2 separate regions of the Homo sapiens genome follow, and region 1 is linked to region 2. Evidence: promoter capture Hi-C in 16 types of primary human blood cells and fetal thymus (Javierre and others, 2016). All regions are on one chromosome and are shown on one strand. The core of a region is centred on a gene start or on the middle of the fragment in contact, and the rest is flanking DNA. Distances in the headings are between cores, read along the strand shown.

Region 1 (2,700 bases), core at 94-2,593, 130 kb after region 2:
CAAAAAAAGAAAGAAAAAGAAAAACATACATTATTGATCTATGTACTCTTAATCATCTTAGTAAAACATTGAAAAAAAAATTGAAGAACTGAAGTGAAAGAAAATGCTACTACTAGAAAAAAAAATATTTTTAGACTCTGGAAAGCCACTAGGACTTTAGTCTGAAAATGCTTTGTAGATTTTTGTCTAGCAGAAAACTACAGAGATCAAGGAAGTAATAAAAATCTACACGGAGAAAAGTCTGAAAAATTCTTAGGTAGTGTCACATAAAGGTATATAGAAACATTCCCACTCTATTAACTTCTTTGAGCTGCACATCTCCCTTCAGTAAGGAGAACACATACTTAATCTATGTTCCTCTTAAAAGATAATAAACCAAATCCCAAGAAAGAAAATAATGAATACATGGCTGCAGAGTTAAAGGAAAAGAGCTACAACAAATCTTATTGATAGTACCTCGGAAGCAAACACCAAAGCAGACAAGCATTATCATGGACAAAAATGCCAAGTTCACTAATAACAGAAGAAATTTACTTAACAAATATTTATATTGTATACTCACACTATACTGTACAAAGCATATTAGGTGCTACAAAGTTAGTATGTTAGGTGCTAAAGATGCAAAAAAAAGGGTCAGCTTTCAAAAGGCCCACAACAGCGGTAGTAGCTAAGTCAGTTCTGGACCAAAAAGCACCCAAATGACCACATTCTAATGAGAAATGGAGAAAATTCTACAAGGGAAACCAAAATACTAACATCCCTCTTTCACAAGCCCTAATTACAAACCTTAAAAACAAAGAACAATGCAAGAATTCAGTTACTACTATCCACCGGAGCCCCACATATGATGTACCTACCTCTTTATTTCATAACCAATTACATTATTAGGAATTTTCATGTAATTTGTAAGAGAATCAGGTTTAAAAAATTCTGTCTGCAAGCTACAGTAAAGTGCTAATAAAACTGTGAAGGCAAGGATTCAATTCCCATAGGAAAAATCCCATGATTATACTATCCTTCTAACTCTGGACAACCACTTCAACGGACGGCCCACTAAAATTAGGCAAGCGAAGTATGGATAAGCAAAAACAAATGGCATTAAAGAAAAAGAATTTGTTTTATGCACAATTCCTCAGAAGCAAACACTAAAGCAGTAGGTTTTTAAACATTTGTTTGACTTCCTCTGTGCCCAAAGGGCACTAGTCATTTTTCAAACTGTAATGTGTACAATTTATTTCTAATAGGTTATGTACATTTCACAATTTTTTCCCAATATTTTCTGACAAAACAGGAAATTACAACTAAAATTCACTATAATTTTTCCATCTTTCAACATTTTAAGATGCCATAGGAGTTTACTATAGGAGAAGTCAAATATGTAATTAAATCATACAAACTAAATGGAAAGGATTACCAAATGTAGTGGTCTTTCAACAGAATTTCCAATTTAATGGGTATCTCCTTTGTACTGTTGTTGAAAACCATTTTAGAAATGTTTACTACACTTTTCTCCTTACGTAAAGGTACAAGAGTATTTACTCTTCAATAAGGTAACTGATAATCATATATTGCCTTCAACTTAGTATTTTGAAAAATTATGCCACTCAAGCTAAAACTATCTGAGCCTGTAGCAAAAGTTAGGTTTTTAAATAATTTTATCAAATTGTTTCATTGTTCTTCTGAAAGCAAAAATAAATAAAAATCCAATTAACTGGAATTCTATTAAGTGTAAATTCACAATAAATGGAAATTTCCAGGAATTTTAAAGTAGAAAATCCAAATCAAATCACGGTGTTCTTACTTAATGCTGATACACTGGTGGATGCGACAGAAAGTCTCAAATATGAAGAGACGGGCATTTTCAATGAAATCCTCAAGACAAGCCACCAAGAAGAAGTCATTCACAAGCACCTATATGTACAAATACAACAAAAATTAATGATGCTGACAAGCAATTGCCTGAAACGTGAATCAAATACTTTATCTGCTTTATTTTTCCATTCTACAATCATGAGTTTTATACCACAGCACTTTCTAGAACACTGTGTTCAAATCTTTAATGATTTAAATAAGTAGTAAACGAATACCACAAGATAAAGACCTAAAAACTGCAATGTTTCTGATAACTTTAATAAAGTAGCCTTCTGACAACAAAGTTTGGTACTATCCATTATTCTACATAAATGCTCTGCAGATAATGTTATCTCTTCCAACTATTTAAAATAATTATAAATGGACTACAAGCTCGGAGTATTTCTACAATATTAAGTAGACTTAGAAATTAGAAGGAAAAGAATGCAAAAGGTGGCTACTATTCCACAGATGGTGTAATTAAGAGAGAATATTTTAATTTCAAGAACAGCAACCAAGTACCCTCTAGGTCTTTTAACATCAAAACCTAGACACTTAGCATAATGAATATACGCCAATATTTACCTTAATAATGCAATATATGACTACAAAAAAAAACACCAATTACCATATTGGATTCTAATTTTCTATTCCATCTAATGTTTGAAAATCATCAGGGAGGCCAGGTGCGGTGGCTGACGCCTGTAATCCCAGCACTTTGGGAGGCCGAGGTGGGCAGATCACAAGATCAGGAGATCGAGACCATCCTGGCTAACATGGTGAAACCCTGTCTCTACTAAAAATACAAAAAATTAACCGGGCGTGGTGGTGGGCGCCTATGGTCCCAGC
Region 2 (2,700 bases), core at 72-2,571:
CCCGATTGGCGCCCGGCTCGCCGAGCTCCCAGCGCGTCTCGCTCCGGCTCCCCGCGCCTCCAGGGTACAGAAAACAGAGTGTTTTGTAGAGCTCCAGGGTCCTAAAGGTGGGGACTGGGGACCCGCAAAAGCTGGGGTGGAGAGCACAGCCCTGACCATCTGAGCCCCCGGAGCCAGGGCGTGAGTGAGCGCCTCCACACGCCACCCCTGAAGCCCACCACGCACCTTTGGCAGAGAGGGACCCACCTCGCTTACTGCGTCTCCATCGGTTGCCTTGGCAGTGGCTGTAATCCATGCAGTTCAGAATGATGAGGGCAAAGGAGAAAAGGCGAAACTGCATCTGGGCGGTCGGGCGGGGGAGAGACGCCTCTCAAAGTCTAGGAACTGGAGGGTTCGCCCAAAGAGCCGGCGCCGGCCGCGCTGCTGGGGAGGACTCAGAGGGAGACTCGCCACTCACCCCCGGGCCGCACCGGTCAGTTCAGCGCGATCAGCATCTCTCCGCCACGAACCTGAGAGACAAGAAGCGAAAACAGGGTGTGTGGGGGATGGAGAGAGCCCCGGGGAGGCAGCTGCGCCTTCGCACGTCCCAATTTAAAGAAGAGAGGGAAGGAGGAAGCGAACCCACTGCCTAGCACGAGCCGCGGAGCGGCTTAATCCAGAGCGGGCAGCTGCGGACGAGTTGGAGAGGAAGGTGATTATAATCAGTGAATTAGCAACCTCTGCCGAGCCCTAAGCTCCGACCCAGCGGCATAATGCGTTGTGCCGGCGCTCCGGGGAAAGGAAAGAACTCTAAAGGCACTGAGAGCGCAGGGCTAAAAGAACGCTCTTAGGCCATTTGGAGTCCACGGCGGTGTACCCAAGCGCCGCAGCTGCGGCTGCCTTGGTGTGGGTTGCCTACCGTGCGCACGTCTCGGGCGGCGCGGCCTCCCTAGGCGCGGTGCTCCATCCCGGGCTCGGGAAGCGAGCCGCTTGGTTAGCACGTGGGCTGGGGAAAAGTTTGCCGAGACCGGCTGGGAGCGCCTGGCAGCTCTGGAATTCCAGCGGCCGCCGCGGGGTTGGCGACGCCAGGCAGGAGCGCGGAGCGGCGGGTGCAGCCACTGGGATGCTCCGTCCCCGCCCGCGAGCGCGGTCCCCAGGCAAGGGGTGCGCCCGCTCACACTCTCTGCCTCCCTAACCAATTGTGTCGCTTCCTGCGCTTTCTCCACGGTCACTTCACAGCTAAGATTTCTTTCTTTCCGAGCTGTAGAAGGCAGAACGCTCTCGGGAGGACGAAGTGATCCGAAGGGATGTGGCAAGCGCACTTTCCGATGGAGATGCAGACCGGCTGAGGCTTGGGATGCTTCTATAAGTAGGTGGTGCTGTGGTCCAAGGCATCTAAGTCTAGGCTGCCTCGGAGTTCCTGGGTCCTAAAGCCAGAAACGTCCCGGTTTCCCTGAGGTCCTAAAGAACGTTGACAGCCAACAGCGCGCCTAACTTGGAGCGAATCCTCTTCGGGCTTTCCAGAGTGCGGGGGATAGATAAAGAGTAGCTGGGGAGACGCCCCCTGACCTTGCTGGGTCCCAGAACCCGGCTGCTCACCCCCAAGGGGTCCTCTCCAGCCCTCTAGGGTCAGTTCCAACCTCAGCGCCAACCTTTCTGCAGGGAGATCTGACTGAAGGACTGATGACTCCCTTTAAACTTTTGCAATATGCCACAACTCTGCCACTTTTTAATTTACATCTTGTCTGTGTTTTGCAGGAAGGTATGTTAGCCGGCTGAAATTATTCATAAAACGCGCCCCCACTTTGAGGAGTGAAATGGGTATTCCCAACAGCTTTTGTTCATCCTCAGAACTGTTATTTACTTTGTTTCTTCTCCAATAAAACAAAAACCTGTGATCCGTTGCCTGAAGTGCTGAAGAAGTTGGGGCCTTGATTCTTTAAAAATAATTTTAAAAAGTTCACTTCCCACTAAAGTATTTTTCATTCTTAATCCTCCTCTCATTTCCAAAGTCTCCTGAATTAAACTTTTAGGTGCTTTGGGTTTGGGGAAAATATTCTGTTTAACAAAGTGTTACATTAAATAGACTTGATGCCATCCAATTTCATTCTGGTGAAATCTGTCCTGCATTCACTACTGTAGGAAAAAATGTATTTATTCCTTAAGCAAAAGATAAGAATTTATGCCACTAACCGTGGCAGTATGAATGTCTATAGATATGCCCGCAGTTACCATATTATTATGATAGCATTTTATACTATTTAAATTCCCTTTTCTATTCCTTCAGTTTCAGAAGATGTTCAGAAATTTGATGACTTAAAAGACAATCATATAAAAAGAATATTGCAATACTCATATTTATTAACTATTCCATTATTGCCTATTCATAACTATTTTACAGACTCACTATTACATAGTGGTATTTATGTGCTAAGAATTTCAGCAGTATGCCTTTGATGCATGCCTGAGAACACCCAAGTAAATCTGAGTTGAGGTCATTGGTCCCATTTCATAGATAAGAAAATCCATCACTGAGACTGGCCCACAGGGCACAAATAGAGTTCACAAAACACATTGCAGAAACAGTGGATCTGTTTCTTGACTTTTGAGCCTTTGATTTTTATCACAGAATTTGGAAACATTTCAGTGTAGGGAGTGGCCCCAGTGTTTGGCATAACTTGATATTTCTTGATCATCTTGATATGATGCTGAATATCTCTT

The links. The method cuts DNA at HindIII sites, captures the fragments that hold promoters and counts their contacts. A CHiCAGO score of 5 or more calls a contact.
Region 1: a fragment that was not itself captured here is called in contact with the fragment with the promoter of RSPO2 in region 2 in 3 of 17 cell types (M2 macrophages, monocytes and M0 macrophages); the score reaches 6.4 in M2 macrophages.

The regions. Positions count from the first base shown.
Region 1 is chr8:108,212,806-108,215,505 of GRCh38, forward strand. EIF3E (eukaryotic translation initiation factor 3 subunit E) reads right to left here. Exons shown (of 13, transcript NM_001568.3): 10 at 1,802-1,911. Among named protein-coding and RNA genes, the nearest start is that of EIF3E, 35 kb to the right of the region's middle. The HindIII fragment of the contact is 5,072 bases long and covers 1-2,700 here.
Region 2 is chr8:108,082,299-108,084,998 of GRCh38, forward strand. It overlaps RSPO2 (R-spondin 2), which reads right to left and starts at 1,322. Exons shown (of 6, transcript NM_178565.5): 1 at 899-1,322; 2 at 247-509. The coding sequence starts at 340. RefSeq lists an enhancer at 1-461 and a silencer at 178-353. The HindIII fragment of the contact is 4,613 bases long and covers 1-2,700 here.